Regions from separate parts of the Homo sapiens genome. Here all the other regions are linked to region 7. Evidence: promoter capture Hi-C in 16 types of primary human blood cells and fetal thymus (Javierre and others, 2016). All regions are on one chromosome and are shown on one strand. The core of a region is centred on a gene start or on the middle of the fragment in contact, and the rest is flanking DNA. Distances in the headings are between cores, read along the strand shown.

Evidence for each region. Contacts are between HindIII fragments. The CHiCAGO score rates a contact against its expected background, and 5 or more counts as called.
Region 1: a contact is called between a fragment that was not itself captured here and the fragment with the promoter of PPP3CA in region 7, in 1 of 17 cell types (erythroblasts). The highest score is 6.7, in erythroblasts.
Region 2: a contact is called between a fragment that was not itself captured here and the fragment with the promoter of PPP3CA in region 7, in 1 of 17 cell types (total B cells). The highest score is 6.2, in total B cells.
Region 3: a contact is called between a fragment that was not itself captured here and the fragment with the promoter of PPP3CA in region 7, in 1 of 17 cell types (fetal thymus). The highest score is 8.9, in fetal thymus.
Region 4: a fragment that was not itself captured here is called in contact with the fragment with the promoter of PPP3CA in region 7 in 1 of 17 cell types (total B cells); the score reaches 6.0 in total B cells.
Region 5: a contact is called between a fragment that was not itself captured here and the fragment with the promoter of PPP3CA in region 7, in 1 of 17 cell types (naive B cells). The highest score is 6.3, in naive B cells.
Region 6: a fragment that was not itself captured here is called in contact with the fragment with the promoter of PPP3CA in region 7 in 2 of 17 cell types (naive B cells and total B cells); the score reaches 8.3 in naive B cells.

Annotation. Positions count from the first base shown.
Region 1 is chr4:102,268,857-102,272,123 of GRCh38, reverse strand. The region is part of intron 6 of SLC39A8 (solute carrier family 39 member 8); the gene reads left to right. Among named protein-coding and RNA genes, the nearest start is that of SLC39A8, 75 kb to the left of the region's middle. The HindIII fragment of the contact is 840 bases long and covers 1,440-2,279 here.
Region 2 is chr4:101,887,778-101,891,009 of GRCh38, reverse strand. All of the region lies in intron 5 of BANK1 (B cell scaffold protein with ankyrin repeats 1), which reads right to left. Among named protein-coding and RNA genes, the nearest start is that of BANK1, 99 kb to the right of the region's middle. The HindIII fragment of the contact is 5,086 bases long and covers 1-3,232 here.
Region 3 is chr4:102,337,361-102,340,799 of GRCh38, reverse strand. All of the region lies in intron 2 of SLC39A8 (solute carrier family 39 member 8), which reads left to right. Among named protein-coding and RNA genes, the nearest start is that of SLC39A8, 6.4 kb to the left of the region's middle. The HindIII fragment of the contact is 4,591 bases long and covers 1-3,439 here.
Region 4 is chr4:101,991,664-101,994,987 of GRCh38, reverse strand. The region is part of intron 7 of BANK1 (B cell scaffold protein with ankyrin repeats 1); the gene reads right to left. Among named protein-coding and RNA genes, the nearest start is that of BANK1, 200 kb to the right of the region's middle. The HindIII fragment of the contact is 1,009 bases long and covers 1,196-2,204 here.
Region 5 is chr4:101,974,407-101,977,976 of GRCh38, reverse strand. All of the region lies in intron 7 of BANK1 (B cell scaffold protein with ankyrin repeats 1), which reads right to left. Among named protein-coding and RNA genes, the nearest start is that of BANK1, 190 kb to the right of the region's middle. RefSeq lists a silencer at 638-838. The HindIII fragment of the contact is 2,107 bases long and covers 677-2,783 here.
Region 6 is chr4:101,868,706-101,871,920 of GRCh38, reverse strand. It overlaps BANK1 (B cell scaffold protein with ankyrin repeats 1), which reads right to left. Exons shown (of 17, transcript NM_017935.5): 5 at 1,277-1,416. Among named protein-coding and RNA genes, the nearest start is that of BANK1, 80 kb to the right of the region's middle. The HindIII fragment of the contact is 1,940 bases long and covers 461-2,400 here.
Region 7 is chr4:101,345,880-101,349,115 of GRCh38, reverse strand. PPP3CA (protein phosphatase 3 catalytic subunit alpha) reads left to right here and starts at 1,590. Exons shown (of 14, transcript NM_000944.5): 1 at 1,590-2,377. The coding sequence starts at 2,320. It overlaps PPP3CA-DT (PPP3CA divergent transcript), which reads right to left and starts at 1,339. Exons shown (of 2, transcript NR_033874.1): 1 at 1,107-1,339; 2 at 233-792. RefSeq lists silencers at 1,355-1,964, 2,435-2,794, 2,815-3,204. The HindIII fragment of the contact is 5,765 bases long and covers 1-3,236 here.

The DNA.
Region 1 (3,267 bases), core at 610-3,109, 920 kb before region 7:
TCAAGCAGTCCTCCCCCTTGGCATCCCATAGTGCTGGGATTACTGGCAGGAGCCCCTGAGCCTGACTTATACCCCTTTTACTCTCACCTCTTGGTTCCTGGATTTGTGCATTCTCTACAGCAGAGATGACACCATATACTTGGCTGCCCAACCTATGAACAGAACTCCAACCTCTCAGGGTGTTATCTCTTGGCTTGCACCCTGGCTGAGGCTTCATCAGGACATTTCATCATTCTGTCAAACTGGTTGCTACTAGAGGGTGCAGGTGATGTGATCCATGAATTATATGTATTGAGCCCACTGTCTCACTTCCTTTGCTAAAAAATGGTTAGGAGATAGTTTTCACAGGAAACCTTGGCTATATATCAGTTGCACTATAAGTCCATGAATGATGGTGCTTGCAGAGGCACTGAAGGCAGGGAAGACATATATTGTATATGTCTATCTTTGTGAGTCCAAGAGCATCCCCTTATAATGGGAGGAATCCAGTGGAATCATTCTGCTACCACATACAGCCACCTGGTCCTCTTGCCCTGTTGGACAGTGATAGCTTTTTGGGGGCTCAGCATCAGCCTTGGCTTTTGAAGTTTGGGACTTCTTTAGTGCTGGAAAGCCAGATTCCCCCTGGTAGGAGAAGAGAATGCTGAACCTATATATATCCTCCCTCTGCACCACTCTGTGCTTTATATGTGGGTCCATTAAGCAAACATTTGGATGGTTGATGAAGGATACTGAGTGACAATCAGATTTTCTTGTTCACTTTATTACTGAAGCTATCCTCTGTGATGGCCTTTTATGAGATTTAGTGGAATAGAATTAGATTCACATTCTGTACTTATTAAAAGAGACTCTTCCATATATTCTTCACCTCCTCCTTTGTGTCCTTCTTGTCTGTCCTTATCTTTCTCCTCCTTTTAGTCCTCTTCCTGCTCCTCTTACTCATGCTTGCTCGTTTCCTTCTCCTTGTTCTCCCTGTTTTCCTTTTCCTCCTTCTCCACATGCTCCACCTTGTCCTCCTCCTAATCATCCTTCTCTTCATCCTCTTCCTCATCCTCCTTCTCATCCTCCTTATACTTGTCTTCCTCCTCCTCCTCCTCATGCTACTTCTCCCTTTCCTTGTGCTCCCTATTCCCCCAGGCCTCCTCATCCTCTACAACTTTCTCCTCCTTCCTTAAACTGTTCTGCAATAAGCCCATTTGTTTTCTCCATTTTAATTTCTAAGTACTTTTTTTGAAAAAAATTTTGTTTTTTGCCCTCCAATTTATGTTGGGATTCAACATAGTCTCCCTCTATTTTTTTAACTTTGGTGCATGATATTCTTTCTCCCCCATTCTGATAACACTACACATTGCTTTGACTTCCATCCCCATTAATAACTAAGTGAAAGGTGTTACAAGTCTTGCTGAAGATTACACGGTAATTCTTCTCACAGCCAAGCTTGAACTCAGTTTTAGATTCCAGACTTAGTGTCTTTTCACTAGGCTGAATTGCCTCATCATGGCTGAGGATAGAAATAGCCTCATATTTAGAGTAAAACTCAGACAAGAAAGCAAGCAAGTGAACAACAATAACAATAGAAAACAAAAATTTAAAAAGGAAAGAGAGAGATAGGCATATTCACTAATTTAACTACAGGAACTTGAATTTAGTGTTCTCTCTGCTCAGTGATTTAATTCTAGGTGAATTAAAAAAGAAGTTTCTGTGAAGGTTTGCTGACTTTGGTTTGTTCCAAAACTATTAAAAATGTATAACTCTTACCTGCTCAACAGTATCATTTGGGACCAAAGCATGAGGCATAATAAATAGAGTCAATAATATCTGTACTTAGAGGTATGAGAATCATTCCTGATATATTAATTTAATTTCTTCTGTAAAATTAAGGGTGTTTGTATACAGACTCTGTAGTGATATCAGGTAGTCAAGACTTGGTTTTGTAGTCTTCTTCTGAAGTCATCACAATAAGGAAATTTTAAACATGTAATTAGACAAATTAGATTGGAAGATGAAAACAACTGCTTTAATTCAAAATAATCTCATTAAGTATATCACGGCATTAAGTTTTACAAAGCCCAGGTCACTTCCTCTGTGGCTTTCCCTATGACCACCTTTGTTTCTCCTTCAGCTGTAATTGCTTCCCGCTCTGGGGCATTTTTTATGCAAACTACCCGATCCACCTGTGCTAAATTATGATTGTTTATTGTGTTGTGCGTTTAAGATACAGCTATAAAATAAAAAGCCCACATTTTAAGAAAAGATAGAATTTTTTATGCGGATAAGCTTTGTTTCTTAAAATAAAAAAGATTTGATACTTACTCAATGTTGCATCAAGCGTTCAGAAGAGTTTTCTGAGAGGTGGGGAAGTCTCCTTGCGAATTACCTTCAGATCCTATTACAGAGAAGAATTCCCATCCCCGATATGTGTGTAGTAGTAAAGCACTGTTGCCAAAAATGCCCATTCACTCTTTTTTTGTATCTCTGGGTAAGTTTACCAACCTTTTTGTGCTTTAATTTCCTCAACTATAAAATGATGGTAACAGTTGTACTTTCCTCATAGAATTGTTCCAAATGAATTCGGTATTTGAAGTGCTTAGAACAGTGCCTAGCACATTATAAATGCTATGTGCCTTTGCTGTTACTATTTCTACTACGACCACATTGGTGATGACAATGATGATGAATCCTATTACTAACAGTTTCCCATTCATTTCATATTAATTAAAAAAATATTTGCTCCAAATGCTTTTATCTGTGCCTACAAACAAACAAAAATCCAAAGGTGCAGATTTGCCACTAACGAAATAGTAAAGAGATGTATTGCAGGATCTAAGGCTGATTCTGAAAGTGTTGGTCCCCAAAGTGTTTGGAGTGGTGAAGTGATATTGGAGTAACTGTAAAACCTCTTAGATGGTTGCTCTGAAGTAAGCCCCTCTCTGTTGGATATATATTGCATGTTTTTTTTTTAATGTATCCATATATATTATGACTTGTTTCTCCAATGTAAATACACTTCTTGAAGACAGAAGCTGTGTTTTCCATTTCTGTGTATTTCCTATAGCATTCAACAGAGTGTTTTACAAATTTCAGAAGTTCAATAAATGTAATGATTAGCTGCTTAGGTAGAGGTGAGAGGAGGAGAATTAGGAATAAAATGTTCTCCAGTTAATTGCAAAGTGCTTTTGTACTTAAAAATGAATTTGCATTTTATCTTTTTCTACAACTTCTGGAAAGTGTTTTAGTTGGCATTTGTCATTTGATTTTGTACAATTT
Region 2 (3,232 bases), core at 420-2,919, 540 kb before region 7:
TAACACTGTCTTATGTGTTCTAAATGTATGTAGTCAAAATATCTAAGACATTTATATTATAAATGGGGGATGGGTAAAGAGAAGTCAAAGGAGGTAGGATTTTTATACTTCACTCAAACTGGTAAAATGAAGACAGCGCTAGACTATAAGTTTTGTATATATAATATAATACCTACATCAACAACTTAAAAAGTTGTGCAAATAGGTGCATTTAAAATACAAGAGATACATCAAAGTGAATTTCTTTAAAAAAAAAATAAGTAACACACAGGAAAGCAAGAAAAAAAAAATAACAAATGAAAACAGAGAAAATTAAAAACAAAAAATAGAGTGGATTTAAAAATATGATTTAACTATATGTTCTCTTTATAATAATAATTATAAAATTTATTTATTTTTTATAATAAATAAAATCAGGTTTTTATAATAAATAAAATTATACTTTAATAATATTTATAATAAGTAAAATTAGCAGGTTTAAGTAGAAGAATAAAACAGATATAGCATGCAAAAATTACAAAGGAAAGCAAAAATGGCTATATTAATATCAATAAAATAGACATCAGAGCAAAAAAATTTACAGGAGACAGAAAGGGACCTTATATAATGATAGAGTCAATCCATCAAGAGGACATAGTAATCCTGAATACATATGCACCAAAAAACAAAACTTCAAAAAATGTGAAGGAAAAATGGACAGAACTGAAAGGAGAAACAGACAACTCCACAATGACAGTGATGACTTAAATATCTCTCTTTCTACAATTGGTAGACAGAAAATCAGGAAAAAATAAAAAAATTCAAACACACCATCATCCCAATGATCTAACCAATCAGCATCAATCCACATACATAGACCACTCCATCCAGTAACAGCAGAATACATTCTTTCCAAGGGTTTGAGAAACTTATACCAAGATAGATCATATCCTGAGGCATAAAACAAATATTAACAAATTTAGAATAATTTAAATCATACAGTGTCTTTTCTGACCGCATGGAATCAAACTAGAAATCCATAACAGAAAGATCATAGGAAAGTGTCCAAATATTAAGAAACCAAACAACAATGCTACTAAGTAATCTGTGGGTCAAAAGGAAACTCTGAACAGAATTTTAAAAATACATTAAACTGAATGAAAGTGAAATACAACATATCAAAATTTTTGGAACATAGCTAAAGGAGGGCTGAGAAAATTTTATAATACATTGGAAAAGAGAGAAAGTCTCAAATCAATTATCTAGGTTCCTACTTCAAGAATTCAGAAAAAGAACATAACAATCTCAAAGCAAGCAGAACAAGAGAACAAAAAGTATAACAGCTGAACTCAAAATTGAAAGTATGAAAACAATAAAGAAAAACTATAGTAACAAGTGATTCTTTTTTTTTTTTTTTTTTTTTTTTGAGACGGAGTCTCGCTCTGTCGCCCAGGCCGGACTGCGGACTGCAGTGGCGCAATCTCGGCTCACTGCAAGCTCCGCTTCCCGGGTTCACGCCATTCTCCTGCCTCAGCCTCCCGAGTAGCTGGGACTACAGGCGCCCGCCACCGCGCCCGGCTAATTTTTTGTATTTTTAGTAGAGACGGGGTTTCACCTTGTTAGCCAGGATGGTCTCGATCTCCTGACCTCATGATCCACCCGCCTCGGCCTGTGATTCTTTTAAAAGATCAATAAAATTGACAAACTTCTAGCAAGACTTACAAAGAAAAATAGGGAGAAAATGCAGATTACAAATATCACAAATGAAAAAAAAGATATCAATACAAACCCTGCAGACATCAAAAGAATAAAAGGGAGTATATGAACAATTCTACATACATGAGTTTGATGATTTAGATGAAATGAACCAAGTCCTTGAAAAACACAAACTACCATAATACACAGTCCCTTTCTATATAACCTACAACTATATATGAATGTACAATTATCTAAAAAATAAGTTTAATTAAATACTAACGATCCCCCCAAATATTTATTACACAAAACTGAATTCCTTGAGATATATAGATACTTATATAAAAGCACCCCTTCGAAGTTGGATTTCACTCCTCTCTTTGATGAGGGGTGTGAACACTGAGCAAAATGGCATCGAGAGGCTGTATTTGAAAGCATTTTAGGACAGTATTACATAATGTAAATAGCTGGGAAGTATTTCAGATCACTGGAGTGCTGTAAAAGGATATGTTATAGGAATAAGCATGCAATGAACGGATTCAAACAGTTTAACTAATAGTAATAACTACCACATGCGGAGCACTGCTAATGTGCCAGGCTCTATATAAGCTATCTCTAACTTTTATAACATCCTGCAAGGTAGATTTTTCTAAATGTCTACTTTTATAGAGGTGATAAGCATGATACAAAAAATTCAGTAACACGCAAATTGGCAGAGCTAATAAGTGGTAAATAAAGATTCTAACTTAGATCTTTACATTCTAAACACAGTAAATTTAATCCTACATTCTAATCGTGGAGAGAAGGATAAAATCTGAAATAGTATTTAAGTAAAGAATAAATTATGCTCCCATGGCTTCAAGATCACCACTGCAGTTCCCAACATTATACTGATGTTTAGCCAGAAAGAGGGAGGAAAGTGATGTGTGTGGGAGGTAGGGGTACTGGGAGAGGGGGCTACAGCCAACCATATCTATTCTTTTTCTCTGTTTAACCAGAAAAGCAAAAGTTTCAAAGATGTCCCCTTGTGTCTCGTTGTTGAAAACTCTCTCACGTGATATGTCTAACTGCAAGGTTAGTTAAAAATGTTGGAATCTGGTCTTTCTAGCTTCCATAAATGGAGGTAGGCCAAGAAGTATCTAAAAGGAAAGTCAACGGTTGAGCTGAAAACAGCCTTGCTCTTCTTCTTATAACAAATTGCTGTGCTTGTTTAAGTTTCACTAGTAAAAGAAAGGTCATCTCATTTGTTGCTCTGTTCTTAAATGTGTGCCATGAAAGAGAGCCAAAACAGCCGTTTAAAGTGAAATTTGATAAATAGTTTACATATCTTTAAAAAAATCTTACTGCAGCTTGTAAAGAAAATGATAGAAAAAAAGAGCAAAGCAAATGTTTTCTAGGGTTATGCAAAGATTTTTTAAAAACTTTATACGTGCTCAGCTCAAAGCAGTTAATTTAAAATAATAATGTAAATGTATAAATCTAAAAGAGATATTTTCTTTTATCAACTTAATTTTCTGTTTTGAATGAATCATTTCTTTGAATTGCAATATCTGTGACT
Region 3 (3,439 bases), core at 896-3,395, 990 kb before region 7:
AGCACTGATTTACTGATTTCTCTATTTTCTGAATTCCTGAAATATTTTTTACCATGCTGATGTCACTTCTATTCCTGTGTTCAGCAGACATTTTAAATGACTGCTGCACTCTAATTTGAATGGTTATTTAAAAATACAAATCTGATCATATCATTCATCCTGTTAAACAATTCAGTGACTTTTAGATAAACTACAAACACTTAGAGTGGCTTCAAAGTCCTTTTCTGATTTGGTCCCTGTATGTTTCTTAAACCGTATCCTTTGTCACAGTTCCAATCTTAATGGACCATTTACACTGCCTGGTTCTCTAGAAATACCTGATTATGCTCTGGTATCAGTTTAGACATTACTTCTTCTGAGAAGCCTTTCTTGATCTTCTCAAGAGTGTAGTCGAAGTCCCTTCAATGCAATCCTGTATTTCTTGGTGCTTGTGCAATTATAACATATTATATATTGCAATTATATTATAACATGTAAATTATTTTATATGTATTACAGTTTTCTGCTTATGTGGCTATAACCCCTGCTGCCTCTCTCTACCCTCCAAAAGATTTTTAACAAGTTGAAGGGCATGGTCTGACTCCTCTCTCTAGAGACTAGTGTAGTGCCTGGTTTATAACATGTATTCATTATAATTTTTTTGAATAGATGGGTGAAGATGGTTTAAGATGAGTTTGATAATTTGAGTCCTCACATGACTTTACAGTCTATTGGAGGAGACATGACATATGCACATATAATTATAATGCACGAAACAGTGATATGCCTGATTAAGGAACTAACCCATTTATGCCTGAGGTTGCAATTTTTTGAATTTTTGCAATCAGACCTTGGCAATGACCTTGAGCAGTGGGATATAAATAACTCCCACATGCTTAGTGTTTCAATAATGGAACACTAGGAATAAATGTGTTTAAAAACCAATGTGAGATAAGACCTGTGTTTTCAGAACATTAATCTGACATGAGAGTGTGGAATGTATTGGAGTGGGTCAAGGTGGGAGCTAAGGAGCCATCTGCAGTGGATTTCATGAGATGTAAGGACCACTTGAATTTGGAGAAACTCAGAAGGTAATATAAAGGCTCTGCCTTCAGAGACTTCAAGAAGAGCAGGCATGGCTGAAGAGTATGCAAAAGGCCCCAAAGATAAGCCTTTTCTATTTCAATATTTTGCCTGTAATCATTATTTATTTAAGTATTGCTAGATCTCTTCCTTCATTATCTTCTGACCCTGTGATGCCAGAAGGAGAAAGAATAACTCCGGGCTCATATTAATGGATGGCCAGGCTAGTGGTATGTAGCAAAAAGGAGTGTATGTATGTGTGTGGATACTGCAAACATGTTTTTTGCATTGCCTGTTGTCATCTACTGCACTTTTTCCTGGGGTGGGGGTAATGATGGGTTAGATGAGGGTGTTTCTGGGAAGCACTGACTATGGACAGAAGAGATAAAGAACATTTGTTCTTTTTTTTTTTTCCCCTTTATGTGCTGAGAAATGGTGGGGGTAAACCTTCTAGGAATGCCTTCTAACCTGCTTGTTCAGGTGAGAAACTGGAAGGGCAGGACAGAGGGTGAGGTTACCTAGGTCTCTTGTTAAGAATCCTCCAAGACAATGGCCCCATTCTGATCTATTAGATCACTCTCACATAAGTTGATTGTGTACAGTGTGTTGATTGTATTTCAAGGCTTTGGGAAAATGAGGGACATTCGTAATTCATTTGACTGTGATGTCAAGAGCTTAGTTTGCCTTGATGCCAGGTGTGATTGGGATCCATTAGGAAAATGCTTTTCATTCCTTTCATATCTAACTCCCAAAATCACATCTTTACCCACTATTCTAGGAGTCATATGAACCCTTTTATATGTAATGTAATAATTATAGCTAGGATTTATTAATCTTTTACTGTGTGGCATTACTCCCTTAACCAATTTATTTGTATTATCATGTTTCATACTCATACCAACTCTATGATAAAGGTCCCATTATTATCTTCATTTTATGTGTAAGAAAAATGTGGCACAGAGAGGTTAAGTAACTGGACCAACGTCACGAAGTAAGTGGTAGAACCTCAGGCAGTCTTACACACTATGCTATAGTGCATTTTTTGAATTACAATCTAGAAAACCATACTTTCTCTAGCTAGAGCAACCATGACCTTAGATTTTGAACTACAGGGAGAAGTTACTAGTCATCGACTGCCTATCTGGTTACATTGCTTAGTCACATTAAGGAAATGGTACTAGAGCTGTGGAGGCTACGATGATGATGACTTGTCTTTGTCCTCAGAGACCTTATAATTAAGAAATAAGATGGAGGCTGGGCGCGGTGGCTAACGCCTGTAATCCCAGCACTTTGGGAGGCTGAGGGGGGCAGATCACAAGGTCAGGAGATCGAGACCATCCTGGTTAACATGGTGAAACCCCATCTCTACTAAAAATACAAAAAATTAGCCGGGAGTAGTGGTGGGTGCCTGTAGTCCCAGCTACTCAGGAGGCTGAGGCAGGAGAATGGCGTGAACCCGGGAGGCAGAGCTTGCAGTGAGCCGAGATGGCGCCACTGCACTCCAGCCTGGGTGACAAAGTAAGACTCCGTCTCGAAAAAAAAAAAAAAAAAGAAATAAGATGGAAACTGTGAAAAGTGACTATGGAAGGCAAAGCTGCAGTAATCACGAAAGCAGACATTGTAAAACATATCACAAGGCCATATATGATTGTCACATGGATACTAGAAAACATCTGCTACTAGTTTAGAAAGGTGAGGGATTTTTTGGGGTTGGAAATGCCTCATGGAAAAGTTATAACTCAGTCAATTTGGCTTATCTGGTTTGGTTTTTAAAAAATTTATTGATTGAACTCTTGCTTATACCAAATGTGATGAATTTTCATGTGAATTACATGAATTCTTTTTTAGAGGATGAAATTTTCTTTTATTGTTTCATATATAATGAATTTTTTTAAGGGACTATATTTTGAGCAACAATAGTACTTTCTTCTATGGATAGACTTCAGGCATGTCTAGTATGAAACCTTTCAGTTCATTTCTCACTTTTATGCTAGAAGTTTTCGGCCAATGAATCCACTGTCTCTTCTGGCGGTTTAGAATGGAAATCTTCCCTTATGATGCCTCTGAAGCAATTGCATTCTTAACTGCACAACACTGGAGAAAGTGGTTTGTGCATAGGTGTTGGGGAATGAGTTGAAGCAAGGAGGGAAGAGTAGGTGAGCCGAGCCAAGTACTTCAACAGAATCACTGACTCTTAACTATAGGTAAGACAGTGCTGCTAGGAGGCAGTTTGAGCTTTCTCACACAGTTATCAGGTGAACTTTCCATAATTGGGATAGATCTTTCTCTCTAGGGATGTTCCCTAGGGTTGTTCTCTCATCTGGGTGGGAGATTTGCAGCTGTTATGCTTTCCATGATTTATTCTTATCTTGGGATA
Region 4 (3,324 bases), core at 451-2,950, 650 kb before region 7:
ATGTCTCCCAAAACTTAAAGTATAATTTTAAAAAAGAGGCAATATCAAAAAGTAAATTATGACAATAAGAATTCAAAAGTTGGGATAAAAAAAGAGACAACTTTTTTTGTTGTTGTTATAAACCTTGTAAAATGATTGGCTTCTCAGCTGTGACCCCATGAAACTTCTCTGTGCAATAAAGTGATTTTTCTAGTTTCACTCTCATTTTGAAATTGAAGAATTTTAAATATCACAAGAAATGTACTACCATGAATGAGAAAGATACGATAGGAATCAAAAGATACAGGTTTCCTGCTTTGCTAACAATGAGCTGAGTGTTTTTCCTCATCTACAAAATGAGGGAGTTGGAATAATTGATCTCTAAGGCCCCTATCAGCCCTAACATACTGCTTTTCTGATTCCATTTTCATGCACCATGTACAACAGCATGTAGCCACTTCCTTTTTCTTAAATTGACATGATGCAATTATATTTTTTAAAAAAACAGATTCTATCAATTAATTAGGAAAACAAATAATTGCTAACATTAGACAGATGGTGAAACTCTCTCAAAGTAGGGCAGACAAAATAATGTACAACCCTGTCCAAAAGCAAAAGGGTCATTTATGAGTGAATCCTCGCCTTGCAGAAATCCTCCAGATGTTTTGTTTCCATCAGGAATAGTCTGTGAATACAATAAGCATTTCTGTAGCATCCATCATAATAGCTCCTGGGCTCTAAATACTGTACACTGCAAACTGAAGACTGGATCAGATAACTCATTCTTTAATTGGAATTTAACAAAACTTAGATATGTTCCTTTTGTTAAAGTCTCTGAAAAAAATACGTCATACTTATTTTTCCTCAACTTTTAATCCAAAATGAATCATAAGATATTAAGCCTGGAGGAGACCTTAGTCCAAATGCTCCATCTCACAGATAAAGAAACAGAAGCCCAGTGCGATGAGGTGCTATGCACAAGGTCACAGACTCAAGGATTAGCAGTACTGACAGGGTCAGGGCCTAGGCCTCTGACTGTATGGCACCATGTAGACAAAGACAACAATATCTAATAGAGCCAGTGTGAGCTTGTTATTAAAGTAAAAATAAATCAGGAGAAACCAAGCAAATATAAAATTGGTAAGAAAAGCTTAAACTGCAAATTCTTGGTAGATCTTTTGGAAAATGGAATCTGGAAGGCATTTAGCCAAAAGCTTTACATCATCTACTGTGTTGTGCCAGCTTTTTAATTTGGCAGAAATAAAGGAATATTCTCCGTAATCAAACGCCCTGCCCAGGATTCTGGGCTATAATAAATTAATGAAGTGAGTTTCTTCTCTCTATTAGATTATCAGTGGCTACAATTTTTCAAGACAGAGATAATAAAATATCATACCATAAAGTGCTCTATCAGCATGCATTTCTTCAGTGCCAAGTAATTATTAATGCTGGAAAGGAAATATGCTTGGTCAGCTTTGGCAATGTATTTAAAAATGTCAGGCCCTGAAAGTCTGTATACCTCCACGCCCCAGTTTACCACATTTACTCCCTAAGCTGTACTTCCCTCTTGCTGTTGCTTTCTGTAACAAAGCATTCTAGAATCAGAAAAATGAAAGGGTTTCATGGAGATTCACTAGGCTAGTAGTTCAGGAGAGAAGAAAGTAAATTGCCAAAAAGCTACTGATGATTGCTACTGCTGGTGAAAGCCTAACCAGAAAGTATGAGAAAACGATGTACAACTTTTTCCAGCTGTTTTAGGCCTCCTGTTTTAGAATTACTTCCCATTTCTTTCAAAACTAGAGCATGCAGACATGCATACTTACAGCCACTCACTTAGGCAGGTCCAGTACAGAATCAATGACTAGATTCACAGTTAACAGATTACATAAAATCCTGACCCAGAAAGATGGAAAATAACTTATGGTCTCCATGAGAGCCAACTGTGCCGTTAAGAGTGGTCTGGATTAGCTGTCCAGGGGATCAACAACAGTTCCTAAAGGGCTTGTGAACCTACACATTTAGGACGACTGTAGGGTGATCGACCTGAGACTGTCTAAATTTTAGCTCTGAAAGTCCTGAATCCTAGGAAAACCCTCAGTTCTGGGCGACAGAGATAGTTGGTTCACCATTGTGGTGGTGGTGCTTCTTAAGTACCTTTTTTAGATCTCCGAGTATTTGAGGAATCAGATAATATTTTGACACAAAATAAAAACATGCTTGAAGCTTAAGTAATAGATATTTACTTCCATTATCTTTTGATGTTTAGCAGGTCATCTAGCATATGTTATGAACTTTGGGAAATGTATCATCTTGTTCTTTATTTATTTGCAATTTAAATGAAGCCAGGTGGGGAGAAGTTGTGTGCAGAATTAGTCATACTCCAAAGAGATATGTAAAAAGAAAAATCCTGAATAATGTTTCTATGTGCTTTTCTAACATGGTTTCTATGAACTTTTCTAACATGGTTTCTATGAACTGCTGCACACATCACGCTTATGTCTAAACACAAGCTGTATAAAAAGACTGGTAAGATAATGGTAAAAAAATTTTGAATTTAAAAGTACATAATCCAAGATATTTTTGTCTGAACAAAAAAATATTATTGTGCCCATATTTCCTATGCCATGATTTTGTGATTTTGGTTGGGAGGTTTTACTTACAAATATCTACATTATTTTGTAGCCCTTCTTTTTAAAATTATATTCATAGTTGATTTTATTGAGAAATCCACTGGTCATCAATGCATGATTTCACAAACATTCTTGTTGATTTATAGTTTTAAAAGTCATTGTTCTTTGTTCTTCCCATTGAACTAAAATGTCAACATGGTTCAGTAAGAAAAGCACATGATTAGAGTGATAATAAAAACTGAGTTCAATTTTTAGCATGACAATCTACTAGCCAAATAATTTTAACAAGCCTCTAAACATCCCTGAGCCTCCTATTTTTCATCTGCAAATTGAAGGGTTTCCGTAACATGGGTTGAAAGCATTTCTTATGTCCTACATACCCACATGAACCAAAAGGCAGTGGTTCATTTGCTCTCAGGCTTCAGGCAGAATTTTACATGTTTGTAGGTGGTGGTGAGTATTTCATGGAAACCTTCTCTCTGTGTATCCCTTAAAGACTAGGTCTGCGATGAGAAAGAGATGACCCAACCAGACATGTACATGTATGTGCAAATACACACGTATGTGTACAAACACAAACATACACATAGACAAATCCATAGTTTCTGTTCATCTTTGAAAAGTTCTACTTGCTGGTTCTTCCCCACCCCCACTGCCCCCAGATATACATGGAATTGTTTTGTGTAATGCACATGTGGAATGCTTGGAAAGGCTA
Region 5 (3,570 bases), core at 481-2,980, 630 kb before region 7:
ACAAACAAACAAACAAACAAACAAACAAAACCCCTAAATTTTAAAACATTTAATACTAATTTTCATTGGTATTTGTTGAAATTTGAGGAAGAAATATTTGATTTGTGGTGAGTATACATCTTCATGCACACTAAATAGAATCAGGTATTTTTAAAATAGCAATTCTTGTAATAGTTCTATCATTTTTGTCTTTAAGAACAATGGAGAAATAATATAAGTGACTCATTTTTTGTTAAAGATAGGATTTTTGGCTGGAATGACCATGGATCTCACTCAGGATGGTAATTCATGTAATCTTATTGATATAAGGTCAGAAAATACATGAAAGAAAGAAATTAGAAGAACTCAGAGACTACATTTGTCTGGAAATAATTGTATTCTTAAGAATTGTGGTCCTGATGCTCCAATTAAGTTAATAGCCAATAAAGTGGAAGAATGGGCCACATCACAGGAATATCTTGATTTAATAAATAACAACACAGTTTATGATGAAAAAGATACAAATAGTCACATTTAACGACCACAGTGACAAGAACAATTTTGGGGCTAATCTGCGTCATTAGTGCTGTTTAAAATATTTTGATGCTCCTCTTTTGGGCACATCATAAAGTTGGACTACACTTCTCTCTCCTCCTTGAGTTAGGCTTGGCCATGTGCCTGGCTTTGTCAGGAAGCTTTAAGAACCAGTGTGTGATTCACCACATTCCCTTCCTTATGCTGCAAGAAGCATGGAAATATGAGTAATGATGAAGTCTGCCAGGCTGGGTCCTTAGTGATTATGATGAGCAGAAGCCCCAAGCTGAACTGCTTTCAATGTGCAGTGTAAATGAGTGTCATCTTTAGCCACTGAGAATTCTGTGTTTTCTGTTATTGCAGCTAGCCTATCCTGACTGAAACAGCATCTCTTGGAATTCAGGGACTTTCTTCATCCCTGACTACATGCATCAGACTTAATTAGATGCACAAAATCTGGATGACTTTCACAACACTAAAGTAATTTTACTTTCTAATTCATAATATTTGCTGATTCATATTATTACTTTTGTTATAATAGAAATAAATTGAATACTGCATCCTGTAAAATAATGCTACCTGAATATTCCACCGTAAGATTCAGCTTGCATACAAAATCTCTGATACTTTTAAATCTTTTACAAGTTGCCCACATGACATGCCTGTTTTGACTAAGTTTGCAGATGATTTATTTTCTTAACATTGTTGTTCTAAAGAATAAGATTTTCAGAAGCACCAGTTATAAAACTGACTAAACTCAGATAAATTTTATGATATTCATAGGAAGCATATGGCATTCTAGTGATAATCAAATGAAATTTATAATTGCAAATTAAAATATGATGTTTATCTGGCATGTGAAGGGAGCAAACCTGGACTCTTTATTATCCAAAATTTCCATTTAGATATATTAATGCTCAAAGCAGAAAATTGTCTAATCAATACTTTACTCTGGCTAGAAAATTAAAGAAAATGTCAGGATGCCAATTCTACATGTACTCTCTGAATTAAATATGCCATTAAAATAACTCAAAATCTCTTCAGCCATCTTTTTGTGTATTATTTTTGTGTATTCTTTGCCAGCATTAATCAGAATCCTGGATAGTTCAATACTTTCCCACTTCACAGGAAAGTCTCAGACTTAGAAGATTAGTTTAGAAAATGGAGAAACCTAACCCCTACTCTCAGCATCTTGTGTTATTACTATCGATTTTCCCTGTGGCATTGAAGTATAGATCCAGAGACAGCCAAGCTGTATTTAGAATACTGAAAAGAGGCAACAAAGAGCAATATCTCTAATTCACTGCTTATGACCACAGGAACTTCAGATCTTTGGACAAACTGGAAACCTGAGATGTTTCTTTAAATGCCTTTCAGCGCTAGTTTATACACATACAAGGTGCTGAAAATTATTTACTGAATGAATTAATTTCTAATCAGCTTCTTCCCCTGGTTTGGGGAGGATATGTTGTAGGAAAAGGTCTTTGAGAAAAGACCTTTGAGAGTCTAAAAGAAAGGATAGCATATCTGAATGCGGAAATTCGCACAGAGAAAGGACGGAAGTTATCAAACACTATTGGTGGTTATAATCAGTCACTGGTTCCATTCTCATTATAACAATATGAATATTCATTTATTTATTCATTTAATAAAGTGATTGATCATTTGCCACATCCTTGATCTGTGCTCATTACTAAGGATAAAGAGCAGAAACAGCACTCAAAAAGATTTCAGCTTATCAGAAAATCCAGCAAATAAAACAAATGATAATAATTCCAGCTAACATTGAGTGTTATTGCTAGCCACTAATAAAACCACTTTTAATGCATTAACTCATTTAGTCCTTGCAATAATCTTATGAAGGTGGTGATTTTATTATTAGCACTGCCATTTTACAGATGAGGAAACAGACACAGAGAGAACTGTCTCTGGACAAATAACTAGAAAGAGGCAGAGCAAAGTTTTGAACCAAAGAAGTCTGCCTGCACATTCCATGCTCTAACCACCATATTCTACAATCTCTCTAATGAACTGTAATGGCTTCAAGACCAGAGGAAATATAAAAAGCAGTAAGCCTTTATGATGGGCATAATTTAGATAGTCTAGACTTACATGAACAACTCATCTTTAACTGGAGATCTGATGAAGTTAAATAATTTATATCATTGCTCTCAGTCTGAATAAAAGGAAAAAAGAGTTAGCTAAATGTGTTTAATGACAATCTAAATGTTATCTCCAAATCTGCTTATATGATTTATTTAAAACAAGCTTAGATGAACTCTCCTATCATAGAAGAAACTACTTGTGAAGTCAGTTCTTCCTTCTAAGGATTTTGGAGAATTTTTCCACTGACATCTCTGAAAATGGCTTTAGAATAAAGCAGATTTTTTTCCCCCAGTCCCTCTCTCTCTTTTGTTAAGCAATTGGGAAGCCATGTTTATTAGTTTGGCTTGTAGGTTACAATGAGCACACTGCACCTAAATGTTTCAGTTTATTTATTTATTCTGAGACGGAGTTTCACTCTTGTTGCTCAGGCTGGAGTGCAACGGCATGATCTTGGCTCACTGCAACCTCCACTTCCCAGGTTCAAGTGATTCTCCTGCCTCAGCCTCCCGAGTAGCTGGGATTACAGGCACCTGCCACCGTGCCCAGCTAATTTTTTTTTTTTTTGTATTTTTAGTAAAGATGGGGTTTCACCATGTTGGCCAGGCTGGTCTCGAACTCCTGACATCAGGTATAGAGCTATGTTCTCAAGATGAAACTCATAATGAAAAAGTCAGTATCACAAAGGGTAGAGTAGAATCTCAATAAGACATAACACAAGAGCTACAGTTTAAAATGTATTAGATTTAGGGCCATATAACATTACTGGCAAAAATCTGTTACTGCACAACAAACTATTGGAGACCATGGAATTATTTGGCACAGTGGAAGGTTGTTATTATCAGTCCATTGCTGGCAATCTTACTTTCAATCTAAGAAGCTAGTGATGACATGAGATAAACTTGCACTGCTCTAGTGATTAAACTGATGAAAAGGTAGGAGGTATTATGAACA
Region 6 (3,215 bases), core at 181-2,680, 520 kb before region 7:
GACCAATTGTCCAGGAGTCATAAATTACATTTAATTTTTACTATATTCAAAGATCCCCACCCACAACAGAAAGACCAACAGAAAATATGTTTGGAGACTACTTTACTTCTACACTGACTGGATAGTCACAATGCAATATATTACCTTTATTAATCTTTTTTGTTATGAATATAATTTTTAAGTAGAGGATAAGGTGGACTTGTCACAAGAAAATGAAACAGTCTGTTTTTTAAGCTATTACTTTTCTACTTGCTTTGGAATTACAATATAGACATTTTGTCAAATGTCCTCAGACTCTCCATTTTGACAAATGTTATTTCACTACCTGTCTTAATGTTTACCTTTTCTGTTGTTCTAAAATATGTCGTTCATATAATATAAAAATAAAACCCTAATAGAAAAATGTGTCACATGAAATAACAAATCCTCCAATTCTAAACTAGTTTAAACACATAAAGCTTCATGAAAACTTGTCAGCTACATTATCATTGACAGTTTTGTTAAAAACCTTACAGGTTTTTATGGTAAATTTGAAGATAGGTTTTTATGGTAAATTTTATGGTAAATTTGAAGATACTTCGACTTCCTTTCTCTACCCTCTTCTACCTCTCACCCACGCAAAAAACTGAGACAAATAAGCAAAGTTACAATTCTAGTTATCAAATTGTTATAAATAGAAATGGCATTTCACTCTGAAAATTTGATGGAATAAGCACATATTCCCAATAAACATCACAAAGAAAAAATAATTTTCACAATCAGATAACAATGATAAATGAAACTAAGAAAAACATACACTGAGCTTAGATGTGTCCACATGAAAGTAACAATTTCTAGATTGACACCACACGTTCCCTTTTTGGTGATATTTTGGTTTGTCTAACTCCTTAATCTCAAAGCATGAGACAGATGATTAGACTTTCATTTTACTTTGTGTTATGCAGATCTGAATAAAGAAGGAATTCATTTCTTAGGAGTTCTTTCTAATTGCTCTCCCTTTATCTGCTTGTAACAGCTTTAAAATGAGCCCATCACAATGGCTACCTTGTAATGAATAAGCTGTTTTCCATTGACATTATCTGTTTTTTTTTGACCTAGGCAAAGTAATTTGTCTGCATTTTGGCACAACAGAGGTTGCCTCTTCCCTTCCTATTGATTGGTAGTAATTCACTGTTATTCAATCCACATTCAAACTTATACCAAAGCATGAATCCTCTTATCCTTCATTAGCTCTTCAGCTTACATTATGATTAACTTCGTGGAAAGATTAACTTACCTGGCACAAACTCTCTCCTGAATCTGCCATTCTGAATAGGCATTCCTTTGCCTTTGCTGTTGGGTAGTACTTAATTTTGGTTGTAGCTTTAACGATTCCATCACAGTAGACATTGACATGGACTGAACCAGCAGGAAACTCTTATGAAAAACAAACAAGGGTTAGGGGCAGAGTATATAATGCATATTCATACTATTACATCTTTTAGAGAATATAAAAGAAGCCTTTAAAAATTCATAACACTTTTACTCATCTCTAGCACTTAAAATCATTTTTAAAATTCTTGGTAGTTGGAAAACACAAAATGAAATGTACAATTTTAGACTTATTTGCTTAAAAATAAACTTAAAATATAAAAACATGTTAAAATAACAATAAAAGTAAAGCACTAAATTATTTGTCCCTACTTACTTACTAGTATAACTTTTCTTTGTAATAATCTATAATCTTTACATAATTCTTTAGAATTTGGAAAAGTATAGCCATTTATCAAAAGTTAGGTATTTATTATTTATCTTATGAAAACAATTTAATTAATTACAGGCAAGTGTCTCAAAAATAGTAATTTGAAAGAGTACAGCTGATTTAAATGATACAATTTGTATTCAATTGACTGCAATGAAAAATCCTGGGAAAGGCAAGGTTTAATCCCCTGATACTGAAGTACTGTTTACATCATACATTCATCCAAAGCCTTTTTGAGAACAAGTTGTTCAAAATGAATGATACACTACATTGTGAATTGTGCTGTAATATATGAGCAGAATTAAAGTTATATAAGAATTTAGGACTTTCTATGAAAGAATATCAATAAACAATCATTTCAATAAAAAAGTTATTGTGTTTTAGTGTAAGAATACTAAACAAAATGTAATTCTTTAAATTCATCTGTGGAACAAATTTTAAGTGCTTTTAATCTGTCATTGAGATATTTCCCAAATTCTCCCAGAAAACTGTCACTCAAATATCTAGGGTTAGGAATAGGTCATTAAATATAAGAGCTTTGAATATTTAAAAGTTTTTAAGGATTAAGTATTAATTTCACTTTATCTCATGAAGCTGTTAAAGGACTTCTTATAATATTGCTGAGGGAAACTTAAATGCAACGAAAGCAATCTTAAGCTTAACTAGGTCAAGGAGCTGAAATTTCTTCCTCATATTTCTTGAGTAGACACCTCGCCTGTATTACAAAGAAGATGCATGTAGAAAAATAGGAGCTCTCTCTTCCCAAAGAAGTATCCATCCAATAGAGAATGTAAGAGAAATTACAACAAACAAAAATGAAAGTTTTAAAGCACATCTCATCAGCTACAGCAGTACGCATATGGTAATGGAAGTTCTGGAGTTATTGGAGTCAAATGAAATCAATTTCAGTAGATTTTATAAAGATAAATTTAAATTTAAATGTTATGATAAGTCATAAAAATTATTTTGAAATAAGATATTAATTTTGTTTATCACAAAAGAGATTAGGAGTTTTACCATGGGGAGTTAACTTTTTGAAAGAAAATCGGTAATGAATCAGGAGAGGTATATGGTGAGATTTGCTTGGTAGTTTTTTGATACAGAGTAGATAAATATTCTATATATTTTTAATCTAACATGAAACTGAACTGATTTATTTCTTATATATTGAATCCTTAGTTAACTCAAAATTTTACTGGTGGATCTACCGATAATGATGTCGATTTTAGAGTAATCCTCCAATGAGATGCCTTTTAAAGGATTGTGTTTTCTGTATACATTCTCATATTTGTTAAATGGCAGTTATTAAATCAATACTTAATTACTGCTCTCAACTGTATGTCAGAGAGAATGTCTTATAGATTCATCTGGTTGGAAGGCCCCCTCAGTAATATATTATTGAACTGACCTTCACATGAGCAGTACTCTGTTCTGCTTCCACATTATTTAACTTTAATTTTGGTTCACTATGATG
Region 7 (3,236 bases), core at 341-2,840:
TCAAAATTGATTTTCAAGTTTGAGCTTTAATCTAATCCTTGTCTCCAAAACATTTCTTTTGGCTTCATCTCCCAGCTCCCTAAACTTTTTTTTTTGTTTTTGTTTTCTTTGTGTGTGTGTGTGTGTGTGTGTGTGTGTGTGTGTATTTTAAACCTTTTATTGGACCCGTGGTCCAATTGAGGAAATAGGAAAAACCTGATACTGAAGGACTTTGGAAATAAAACAGGAAACATGAAGGGTGAGAAATTTATTCAGATTTCTTCATAATTCCCCCCAAAAGCTCCAACCACGTTGCCAGTCCTTGGGTGCTGCAGTTGGTCGGGGAGAGGGGCTGTGTGGAGGTCACCTTCTGGTAGACGGAGACCCGCTTTTCAGACTCTGTGGCGCAGCAGGCGGGCCAGGAACATTTGGGCCACTATTGCTCTTAGCCCTGCCGCGCCTGACTTTCTCTCCTCTACTTTCCTTCCGACCGTAGGGACAAGTGTGGGGATCCGCTTTGGGCTCCAAGGCCCTGCCCGCACTGGCAGCACCAAGCGGGTGTAGAATGACTGGAAGGAGCAGGGAAGGAAGATGGGTGTCAACTGTCCCGGCCAGTGGCTGCGTGCATGTGTGTGTGAACAGGGAAAAGGCCACCCTCTCCCATGTTTCTCCCGTCTCCTCGGTTCTCCTCGGAGACCCGCAGGGCTGCCCGAGGTAGCTCCGAGTTGCCCTGGGTCGCTGGGGCTTGGTCCGCATCCTCCTCCGCTAGTCCGCTCCCGCGTTCCACAGCGCCCCGCCGCTCGGTGTGCACGCCTGGGTGGGACACAGTAACAGCCCCTAAGCCGCCAACGCAAAAGCAAAAACAACCGTACACCGCATCGCAGTCGTAGCTCTTCTCCGCAAGGTAAGTTGTTTATTCGTCGCCGTTTTGGCGATCCTCCCTGGACAGCTGCGGCAGCGACGGCAGCTGCGCCGCGGGCGCCGAGCTCCCAGCCTCTTCCTTCCTCCGCCCTCTCAGGGCTGCCTCTCACCCCCACCCTCTTCCCTCCTATCCCCGCCTTCTCTCTTCTTGCCCTCTTGTGGGCCACGCACACACCCGGAGACACCCTCTGCACTTGGCTACTCACACTGCGGCTTAACCCAGCCGACAAGGCACGCTTGCCAAAGAGGCGCGGGTGTGTGTGTGCGGGGTCCGCGTTCGGAGGCCAAAGGAGGGTGGCGTGGTAGAGCCCTTCTCCTCCTGGCCGCGACGCCTTGCCCACTCTCCTGCCCTAATCTCGGCCTGCCAGCAAAAGTGACACCTGAGCAGGGACTGGTCCGTAGAGGCGGCAGGCCCGCTGGTCCGGCAGCTGGAAGAAAACAGAGCAAGGGGCGGGGACAATGAGGAGGAGCGGGAGGCGGGACAAGCGGGGAGGCCGCCACCTGGCACTGAGTGATGCGCCCTCTAGCCAATGAACGCGAGGAACTCCGGCGTCGGGGCGGGAGGTCGGGGGCGGGCTCAGTGGGGAGGAGGAGGCTGCAGGCGCGCAAGAGGCGGGGGCCGGGAGGAGGAAGGGGAGGAGGCGGAGGCGGGCGCGGTGTTGGCGGCGGCGGCGGCGGCGGAGGGGGGTAGGTTGTGCCCGGGACTGTGTCTGCCGAGCTCGGCGGCTGTGCCTTGGTGAGTGGAGGAGCGGCGCGGGGAGGCAGAGGCGAGCGCGGGCGATCGCGGCGGCGGGACGTCTCCGGCGGCCGCGGCACCAGCGGCGGCGCTCTGTGTGGAGAAGCAGGGGCAGCGGCAGCAGCAACAGCGGCAGCGGCAGCAGCAGCGGCAGCAGCGGCGGCCGCCTCTCCGCCGCCGGGGACGCCAAGGTGCGGCTGGTGGCACTGACATCGGCGGCCCTGCCTCTCCTCCCTCGCCCCCGGCCTTCCCCATGTGATCGGTCTTAATCCTGGCCGTGTGTGCGCGCGTGGGGCTCCATTCCGCGGTGCTGGGTCTCCGTGCCGGGGTGGGTGCTCGTGTGTGCGCTTCTCCTCCCCATCCCCCTTCCCCCAAGAATAAAAGAAGAACCGGGAGGCGTGCTCAGAAAATAAATAAATAACCACCACACACGCGCAGCCCGGAGCGAGTCGGCGGGGCTGGCGGCAGCGGCGGAGGAGGAGTGAAGGCGGCGGCGGCGGAGGAGGGACGCGCGGAAAAGGCAGCAACTTTAAAGCCAGCTCAGAGCCTAGACCTCCAGCCGAGCGGTTTGCAGCGCGGCGGCGGCGGCGGCGGCGGCGGCGTTGAGTGTCTGGCCCGCCGGTCCGGTCGGGGTGTGCAGTCGGACGGACGAGCAGCGCGTCGCTGTCCTCCGGCAGCTGGAGATGTCCGAGCCCAAGGCAATTGATCCCAAGTTGTCGACGACCGACAGGGTGGTGAAAGGTAAGCGGAGCGCCGCGGTGGCCTGGGTGCACCGTGTGCCGCAGGCGCCAGGGCAGCTTGCCTCGCCTCGCCTTTCCTCCCCTCCCCCGCCCCAGGTTCTCCTCTGTCCGCTCCAGCCGCGGACCTTCTAGGATATTGTGCAACCCGCGAACCCCGCGAACCCCCCGCCCCCGCGGCGCCCTTCCCCCACGCGTCCCACCCAGCCTCACTTGGGGCATTTTTATTGACGGGGGCGTCAGTTGGCAAATGGCTGAGCCGCGGGGAGGTGGCGGCGGGGGTGGCGGTGGTGGGAGGGGGCGCCCGGGGGGTGGTTGCTGGTAGGGTGTAGCTGCTGTGACAGAAATAGGAAGTGGGTGGCTCTGCTCACAGGCTTGCATGGGATCGGGTTTATGGTTTTCTTCTGCAGAGGGAGGGGTGATTGATGGCTTTTTAAAAATTAATACGGCATTTTTATGTGGCCGTGGCTTTCCACCGACTGCCTCACTTGGGCAGGGTTGTCTTGGAGCTCCATTGCAGCAATTCCCTCCGCGCCCCCCTCCCCCTCCCCCTCCCCCTGGAAGGGCCTGCACAGGACTCGCGAGAGAGCGGGAGAGCGTGGGGGGAGCCCGGCGCTTCCTTCCGCGCGGGGCGGGGGCGGGGGCGGTCGCTGGCTGGAGGGTGGCCGCGGGGGGCGCGGGAGGCGGGGAACGACCTGAGAGCACCAGCCGTTGCCGCCCCGGGATTTCCCCCGCACGCCCCGGGGAGAGACACGAAAACCACTTCTCCAGCCTCTCTTGCCATCCCCGGCTGTCCCCCGCCGACCTGTCATTGCTCTTAAAGGGTTCTCCACTCGTGCACACCTCCCAAGTGATAACCTCAT